Linked DNA regions of Homo sapiens: region 1 is linked to region 2. The links are contacts of gene promoters, found by promoter capture Hi-C in human tissues and cell types (Jung and others, 2019). All regions are on one chromosome and are shown on one strand. Each heading gives the region's core, a stretch centred on a gene start or on the middle of the fragment in contact. The rest is flanking DNA. Distances are from core to core; before and after follow the strand shown.

What was found. Contacts are between HindIII fragments. The study calls those that stand out against the background at their distance.
Region 1: a contact is called between a fragment that was not itself captured here and the fragment with the promoter of TMA16 in region 2, in 1 of the 25 tissues and cell types used here (dorsolateral prefrontal cortex).

The regions. Positions count from the first base shown.
Region 1 is chr4:161,625,440-161,630,544 of GRCh38, reverse strand. The region is part of intron 7 of FSTL5 (follistatin like 5); the gene reads left to right. Among named protein-coding and RNA genes, the nearest start is that of FSTL5-AS1, 390 kb to the left of the region's middle. RefSeq lists an enhancer at 174-468. The HindIII fragment of the contact is 6,404 bases long and covers 339-5,105 here.
Region 2 is chr4:163,491,343-163,495,976 of GRCh38, reverse strand. It overlaps TMA16 (translation machinery associated 16 homolog), which reads right to left and starts at 1,287. Exons shown (of 7, transcript NM_018352.3): 1 at 1,173-1,287. The coding sequence starts at 1,175. LOC124900805 (a long non-coding RNA gene) reads left to right here and starts at 753. Exons shown (of 2, transcript XR_007058354.1): 1 at 753-815; 2 at 1,081-3,963. RefSeq lists enhancers at 711-860, 891-1,030, 494-1,396 and a cis regulatory region at 2,678-2,949. The HindIII fragment of the contact is 18,907 bases long and covers 1-4,634 here.

The DNA.
Region 1 (5,105 bases), core at 2,291-4,790, 1.9 Mb after region 2:
TTGAAATTACAGTGCCAGTTTTATCTTAGGAAATCCACATATATCATTGGCTATACTTATGATGAGAAAGTTATTGCTGTCTCTACTTCACAAACAAGAAAGGCTCATAAAAGCACATATTTTCAAGGGCTTGAGCTGACCTGGAGAGAGCTGTACTGCCAGGTGCCATAGTAGCTGATAGAAAACACAAACCAAGACGAAAGCAACAGTCAAGACTGTGATCATTTAGTACGAAAATATGAGCCAGAGGCTAAATGAGAGCTGGCAGTAACTCACCGCACTGTTCATTTTCCCACGTGAAACAGCACCAGTAAAGGGTAAGCTGGATTAGCATAAACATGGTGAGTCACCTCACTGCACAGTGAAGCTGAACAGAAGGGTCCCGCAGTTTTATGGACCTGGAACGGAGGGGCAGGAAGGGGAGGGGAAGAAGGAGTAAGGGCTAGGAAAGAAAAAGTACTGAAACCTAGTGGAGGAAAGTGTCTCCTAGTTCTCCCTGATTCCCCCATTAAGAGGCCTCGGCTGCAGTGTCTGAGGAAGACTCCACTATAGGCCCCTGGGCTAGGAATGAAGATATGCATAAGAGAATGGCCGGCCAGGAGGTCCTGAGCCTCCGACTGGAAGTCCCATCATAGACAGCCTCGCACTGGCTGTGCGCCAACTCTGTCGTTCAGGGGATAGCTTTCCCCTCTGAGACCTGCCAGGTAAAGCCTTTGTAATTTCCCGTAGTCAGGCCTAAAGGTTCACACATGAGTATTTGACCAGGAGCCCAATAATTTGGGGCTGATAATAATTTTGGTGTGAACTGACTCGGCCAAAAACATATATAGCTATGGCTTAGGGGAAAAAAATCCCATTTTCTTCCCTCCAAGATGCTTCTTTCATTAAAAACATTTTATGGGCCGGGCGCGGTGGCTCAGGCCTGTAATCCCAGCACTTTCAGAGGCCGAGGCGGGTGGATTACCTGAGGTCAGAAGTTCAGGACCAGCCTGGCCAACATGGGGAAACTCTGTCTCTACTAAAAAATGCAAAAACTTAGCCAGGTGTGGTGGCAGGCACCTGTAATCCCAGCTACCAGGGAGGCTGAGACAGGAGAATGGCTTGAACCCAGGAGGCAGAGGTTGCAGTGAACCGAGATCATGCCATCGCACTCCAGCCTGGGTGACAAGAGCAAAACTCCGTCTCAAAAAAAAAAATTATCTAATTTACTATAACTTCATTGATTTTCATTTTGTCTCTTGTGTTTTCACTCTTCCTTACTAGTAAAATTATGTTTGGAAATGTTCATTGTAACTTGGAACAGAAAACAGAGCTGGAGTTAGAGTAGTATGTGGTAGTAGGTCAGTCAAAACATGAAGGAAGCAGAAACAGCTTGTGGTGAGACTTATGTTGGACAGCCACAGGGTTCTGCTGCCTGTGTGTACCATGAAAATCACTGCTCTTCAGGGACAAAGCAAACTTAGTTTTAAATAATAATTGATGTCATTTCTTTCTACTTTGTCTAACACATACCTATAGATGTGTTGCTTTAGCTCCTCCACTAAATCTCAGGCTCTTTGAGAAATTATAACCCTATAATAAATACCAAAATTATAAGTGTATAGAAAGTTTTTAATAAATACTATTGAGTTGAATATGCTAACCAATTAATAAAATATACAGACCTTTATTATTCCTGGAGATCAGTGACTTTCATAGTACAGCCAGGCAGCAGAATTTCATGGCTGTCCATTAGTAGTCTGAATCTTGACATTAGAAATGAGCAAGTGAAAAATTGTGATCAAGGGAATAAGATTGGCAGGGCCAACCTGATAGGAAGTTAAAAGGAATAAATTACCAATTAGTAATGGAGGTTTCAGATTGAGATGCATTGTAAAATTCAAACCTAAATTTCATTGGGATTTAATGTTACACTTAACGGGCTAACGTGATCTCAGATGTCCTTTTTGGCATCTCTCTGCACATTAAAAGTAATATGACTATCATTCATCCTTGGTTAATCTGAAAAAGTAAAATAATTATACTCTGATATTATGTTATATATATTAATTTTTAGACATAATTTTAAAAATGGAGCTGCAATTTGTGTGTTTCCTTTAAGCCGTTTTTATCAAGGCTGTCATATTTCTGGTTGGAGTGTAACATATCCATCTAAGACCTTTAGACTAATCAGGACCCCACTGATACTTTAATTTCAATTTTTTCTTGCTTTTTAAAATAATTTACTACAACTAGAATAATCTACACAAGTAAAAATATAGAGATTATAGATTTTTCAATTAAGTCTGTATAAAAATGTTAGAAACTTATGGGGAAGAGAATTAACATTTTTGAGTGCCTATCACATGCCAGACACAGTGTGAATGTGTGCTATATTGATTTGTTCCTTTAATTATCATACAAATATTGTATGGAAAGGGGCATCTTTCCCCATTTATGTCTGAGAAAACTGAGGCTCGGGGACTTATTTAACCAAAAGGAAAGCAAGAGGTAAAGCAAGAATTAAAAGCTAGATTTGTTGGTTCCAAAATTGTACTATTTTGTCTGTGTGGGAATGTTTCCATTCATGGCTAATTCTTTTGTGTGTATTGGATTTGAATGAGAAATGAGTTATATTGACATATGTTACTATCATAAAATTATTCCAAAGTCTGTGTCTGTATGACCGTGACAGTATATATCAAAATTCTTCTTAATAATTTTATATCAGATGTAAAATTATAAGATTTTTTAATATATAGACTAAAATGCTTTTATTTTAGTCAACTTTCACTTTAATATTCCAGAAAAATATTTCATGATATTCAAAATTGTCATATGGGAAATTATCTGGTTGTACACTACTTTTGACTTAGGCAGTGTAGTAATGGGTATAAATATATGGTGAATTATTAAAAGTTAATATTCTGTAATAAACCATTAAGATTTTTGAGCTTCTATACTTTTGTAAAAAGGTATCTAACAAAAACACATTTTCTAGACTTTCAGGCATGCCTCGGAGATCTTGAAGGTTTGGTTATAGACCATCACATTAAAACAAATATTGCAATAAAGAGAGTCACACAAATTGTTTTGGTTTCCCAGTGCATATAAAAGTTATATTTATACTATAATGTATTCTATTAAGTGTATTAAGTACGATGGCATTATGTATAAAATATAAATGTAAATGCCTGAATTAAAAGTATGTTATTTCTAAAGTGGCTGACAATTATCTGAGCCTTCAGCAAGTCATACTCTTTTTGCTAGTGGAGGATCTTGCCTCAGTGTTGATGGCTGCTGACTGAGCAGAGTGGTAGAAGCTGAAAATTGGGGTGGCTGTGGCAATTTTGTAAAATAAGACAACAGTGAAGTTTGCTGCATCAATCGACTCTTTTTGAAAGATTTCTCTGCAGCATATGATACTTTTCATAGTGTTTTACACACAGTAGAATTTCTTTCACAATTGAAGTCAATTATCTTAAACCCTTTATCAACTAAGTTTACATAATCTCCTAAATCATTTTTTGTCATTTAAACAATTTTCATGCATCTTCCCCAGTAGGTTGCATCTCAGGAAACCTCTTTGTTTGCTCATCCATAAAAAGCAAGTAATCTGTTCAACTTTTATAGTGCTACTGTAGCAACTCATTCACATCTTCAGGCTCCACTTCTCATTCTAGTTTTGCTATTTGCATCACATCTGTAACTCTTGAACCCTTTGAAGCCATCCATGAGGATTGGATTCAACTTCTTCCAAACTCCTGTTAATATAAATGTTTGACCTTCTGGCATAAATCATGAATGTTCTTAACGGCATCAAGAATGGTGAATCCTTTCCAAGAGATTTTCAATTTATCATGCCCAGATGTTCCTGTGGCAGCTGTAGCCATACAAAATGTGTTTCTTAAATAATAAGACTAGAAATGAAAAATTATTCTTGATCCATGTGTTGCAGAATGAATGTGGTGATTGCAATCATAAAAGCAAGATTCATATCCTTGCACATCTCCATCAGAGCTCCTGGATGACTAGGTGCGTTGTCAATGAGAAGTAATATTTTGAAAGGAATCGTTTTTTATTTTTTTATGAGCAGTATGTCTCAATAGTGGGCTTAAAATATTCAGTAAGCCATGCTTTAAACAGATGTGCTATGATCCAGGCTGTTGTTCCATTTAAGAAGCACAGGCAGAGTAGATTTAGAATAATTCTTAGGGCCTTAGGATTTTCAGAATAATAAATAAGCATTGGCTTCAATTCAAAGTCACCGAGTGCATTAGCCCTTAACAAGAGAATCGGCCTGTTTTTTAAAGCTTTAAAGACAGACATTGTCTTCTCTCTAACTACAAGTCCTAAATGGTATTTTCGCCCATCACAAGATGGTTTTGTCTACATTAAAAATATTTTGTGTAGTGTAGTCAGCTTCATCAATGATCTTAGCTAGCTCTTCTGGATAACTTGCTGCAGCTTCTACATCAGCATTCGTGTCACCATGCACTTTTACATTATGGAAGTGGCTTTTTTCCTTAAACTCCATGAACTAACCTCTTTCTTACAGAAGAAAAGCTTCCAAATTTTCTCTGTGCTTTCATATATCTCAGCCTCCATAAAATTGAAGAGATTTACAGCCTTTCTCTGGATTAGTTTTGTCTTAAGGGAATGTTGTGGGTGGTTTGATCTTCTATCCAGACCACTCAAACTTTCTCTATATCATCAATAAACCTGTTTCGCTTTGTTATTTTTTGTGTGTTTATTGAAATTGCACTTTTAATTTCCTTCAAGAACTTTTCCTTTGCATTTAAAACTTGGATGTTGGGCACAAGAACCCTAGCTTTTGACCTGTTTCGGCTTTCAACATGCCTCTCCCACTTACCTTCATCATTTCTAGTTTTTGATTTAAAATGAGAGGTGTGTGACTCTTCCTTTCACTTAAACACTTAGAGGTCATTGTAAGGCTATTGTTGGCCTAGTTTTAAAATTTGTGTCTTAGGGAATAGGGAGGCCTGAGGATAGTGAGAGAGATGAAGTATTGGCCAGTCGGTGAAGCACACATTTTTCAATTAAGAACACACGCAATTTTTACCAATTGTTTGCCACATTTTAGGCATGTAGTTCATGGCAACCGA
Region 2 (4,634 bases), core at 38-2,537:
TCAAACACAATGAGATGTAATTGCTTTCATATTCCACTCTGAAAAGGGGAAAAAAACTAACACTATAAAGAGTTGGAAATCCCACAAGCAAAGTGACAAGCAAACACTGAATTTACACAAATGTGTACAATCTAAAGTACAAAATATGCGTCAGCAGTGGATCAAAATAAAGCACAAAAAACTCGCGAAACAACGAAAGAACCAGACTGTAAGACAAAAATGGCATACAATGAAAAGAGAAAAAAATGAAAAGAAACAAAGAGGCCACATTGTGGACACAATATCGTAACTTCTGACCAGATTATAAACTTTTAAAATTTTGCTTTTATTAAAAATTAATTGAAAAAAATTTATAAAGCATGTTTCTATGCAAGAATTACTCTCAAGAACACAACGATTACGTAAAAAATAGGCAAGAAACAACATACTGTTTCAAAATACAAATATATGTAGTAACTATAAAGAAAAGTAGTGAAATTATAAATACAAAACTTAGATAATGTTTGCTTCTTAAGGTTTCCTGAAAGTTCAAAGAAGGTAACACAGGGCTTTCAAAGGCTATGTTTTATTTCTTAAAACTACAAAATGGGTAAACGAGAATTCCTGAAACTGTTCATCTTTACACTTGAAATGTGCTTTAGTAACACTCTTTTGTATCTACTCAGTTTTTAATAAAAACAACAAAACTGCTTCAGTGCCCTGGAGCGAATGGGGGCGTAACGGCAGGATTCAGGGCACTAACGAGAGGTGAACGGACGCCGAGGAAGAGGCGACTAAGCCCACATACTGAGTCTACCCAGGCCAGAGAGGCAGAGGTGTGTAGGGCCAGCGATCTCAGAAGTTTTGCCAAACTCCTCGATGCGTTACAATGGAAAGGTGCCGGGTTTCCCCCAGGAAGTAGTGACTAGCGAGAAGTTAGGCACAAGGCAAAGAGGAGCAAGGCGACGTGTGAGCACTTCAGCACTCGGACGCGGAACTCTAAGGTCCAGGCGTTGGGCCTGGGACTCGCCTCCCAGAGGCTTCGCCCCGCACCCCGCACACTCCCTGAAAATAAACACTTTGCATCCTCCCCTCTCCTAGGTTCCCGAAACCGCACCCTCCCTCTCTGCCTGCTCAACAAGAGCCTTCCGGGGAACCAACCGAGCGGTTCGGGGGAGCAGGAGGGGGCCCACCATGGTGACGTCCTCGTGGCCACGGAGCAGCTCCGCACTCTAGACCCAGGTAATCTCACCAACCGCAGGAGCAGCAGCTCACAAGAGCACCCGGGCCGAATCCCACGTGGCGCCTGAGAAGCCCGCGCCGACCCAACCGGAACAGGAGAGGCGAGTGCGTTTCTCTAAAGCGTCCCCGTTAACTGAGACCGCGTCTTTTTCGCCCGTGTTGGGCTTTTAAGCTCTAGCCCAACGGACAGCCAGACCTGCGTGCTCGCCGGGAGCGGCGGAAGGGAGCTTGCGGCGGGAGGCTGAACTCTGCCTGGTGCTGAGTGCGAGGCTGGGGATTGGAGCCCGGGTGGAGACGCTACACGCTTCCGGCCCCAAGAGCGGAGCTTGCCCATCTGTCCCAGAGCACGACTCCAGAGCGCAGCAACCTCTTCAGACAAGAGGTTCCCTCTTGCGGGCTCCCGCATCTCAGGGGCTGGGACCCTCTCAAAAGGGCCGCTCGGTGTTGGCTCCCCGGAGCTCTTGCACGGCACAGGCTCCTGCCCTCCGCTTTTCCACGTACTAGATTACCTTGGGCAAGTCCTTTCCTGCACTGAGTCTTTTTTTGCCCTGCCCTGCCCTGCCCTGCCCTGCCCCGCCCCGCCCCTCTTCTCTTTCCTTTCTTTTCTTTTCTTCTTTCCCTCTTTCCCGCCTTCCCTCATTCCCTCTTTCTTTCTTCCTCCCGGGTTCAAGCGATTCTCCTGCCTCAGCCTCCCGAACAGCTGGAATTACAGGCCTCCGCCACCACGCCCGGCTAATTTTTTTTTTTTTTTTTTTTTTTTGTATTTTTAGTAGAGACGGGGTTTCGCCGTGTTGGCCAGGCTGGTCTCGAACTCCTGATCTCAGGTGATCCGTCCGCCTCGGCCTCCCAAAGTGCTGAGATTACAGGCCTGAGCCACCACGCCCGGCCGAGTCTTAGTTTCTTTATCCGGAAAGGCCACTTCCTCATATTCAAGGCCTCTGCCAACCCAGTTTTTGTTTTCTTCTCACAGCATGTGAGAGTCTTTGTTTCACCCATACATGTTAGAATTCCGTAGACAATGTAATCATTCAAAAACTATTTATTGAATGCCTACTGTGTGCCTGGTACTGGGGATACTCCAACAATATCCCTCACTCAGCTCATTTTCCAGGGGATGGAGGCATGTAAAAATATTATTTCAAATAATATAAGTACTCTAATAAAAATTAGCTGGCGGGGGCATGTAGAAAAGCTGTTTTACACATGGTGGTCTCTATAAAGTCCTCTTTTAGAAGTGATAATTGAGCAGAGACCGGAATTGTAAGAGAAAACTAGGCATGGGAAGAAGCTCCAGGCAGGGTGAAGCTGGTGTGCCTTGATATGTGTGTGCAGCTGTTAACAGTTGAGGGTAGTTGGCTAGGTCCTTGGCGTTTTGAACAAATAATTGGACAAAACACACAAATAAAGCAAGGCAGCGAAAGCAGAGATTTATTTTAAATGAAAGTACACTACTCCACTGCGTGGAAGCAGGCTGTGGCAAGCTGCTCAAAAGCACAGGTTGCAGAATTTTCTGGGGTTTAAATACCTTCTAGAGGTTTCCCATTGGTCTTCCACAAGTCTGATTGGTTGAGGAAGGGGACCAATCTGAGGCACTTTCATTTTTCAACTGCCACACAGAAAAAGAAGGGCTTGCAACTGCCAGGCAGCAACTGCCATGCAGAAAAAGGAGGGGTTGAAGGGGAGTAGTCTTTCAACTGATATCCCATCAGCACAAATCAGTCCTAGCTTCCCTGCTTCCAGACCCTATTCTCCTGCCGCACAAATACTTGTATTTAATCGACAGATATATCAATTTTTGGAAATAATTTAAATTGTAAACAAGAGTGTGTCCAGAAGATTCCTGAATCTAGGGGCAAGGTATTTTCACATGGCTTTTTTTGTGTGTGAATCTATGCAATGAAGGTCACCTTTGAATATATACTGTGGAGGCAGCACATTCATGCATCACTTAAGGACGGGGATACTTTCTGAGAAATATTTCAATGGGGGTTTTGTTGTTTGTTTTTTGTCATGTGAATATCATAGAGCACACTTACACAAGCCTGCATGGTATAGCTTACTACCCACCTAAGCTGTATGGTATAGCCCATTGCTCCTAGGCCACAAACCTGTACAGCATGTTACTCTACTGAATACTGTAGGCAATTGTAACACAATGGTAAGTACTTGTGTATCTAAACATAAGAAATGTACAGTAAAAATATAATCTCATGGGATCACCATTGTAATGCAGTCCATGACCAAAACATTGTTACATGCACATGACGGTACTCTGTGAAAGACTCCAATTAATCTAGAATATTTACACCCTAGCTCCATACTTTAGCCACTTCCTGTGAAGCCATCTTTCACCCACCCTACCCCATTCCCTAAGTCTGGCCCTGTGGAGATCACCCTCCTAAGTTCTATGTTACTGCAAATCTTTTAATTATTAAATTTTCCTTCTGGCTATTTTAGCTGTTACTGATTGCTCTATTGATCATAAAATTCCTACCTACTCCTAACCCATTCCTAAACTTCAAATTGCCAACAACTCAATAAACCATATATCTTGAAACTTTTATTTTTTATTTTTAGTTGAGTTTTAGAAATAAATCTTCATATTTTCCTCATTCAGATTCAACCCCTAAATAACATTGATTATAGACATGTTAAAAATATACTGTATATGTTCAAAATACACTGTAGCAAATACAAACATGAATTATACAGAGCAAGAATAAAGATAATAATGATGGCTAATGTTTTGTCATTGTTTAATATATGTATGCACCACTGTGATAAGCAAAATGAATCCCCCAACTTTTCCCCTCCCAATTCAACCTCCCCTTTGCCCCGTGCAATAACCACTGTAGATGATTTGGAGACATCTTTAGAGATATTTTCCTGTACTTTAACAAATATACTCAGATGTGTGTGTATGTGTGTGTTGTATGTATGTGTGAGGATTAAGTATTGATTAACATTAGGTATTGATACAATAAGTACAAATGCATAATTCTAGTGTCACAACTAAAAGAATAGAAACAGGGTACCTAACTTTGTACAGGCTACACACAAGTAGAGAAAATAAAATAAATGGAATGATTAAAATATACTCAGGTAATTCCAACTAAGAAAATAAAGGAGAAAACATGAAACATAAGACAGGAAAACAAAAAAAAATATGGCAGTAGATTTAAATCCATAAAACAGTAATTACGAAATAACTGCCCCCAACTAAAAAAAAGTCAGATTGTATTGAAAACATCCAACTGTATCCTGTTTATAAGACACATCTAAGGTACACGAAAATAGAAAAATAAATGGAAAGAGTTATGCTAGGTGAATGCTAACTGAAACAATCCTGGTATACATATATCAATGTTATACGAAATAGACTTTAGGTCAAAAAGTAATATGGTATATATAAA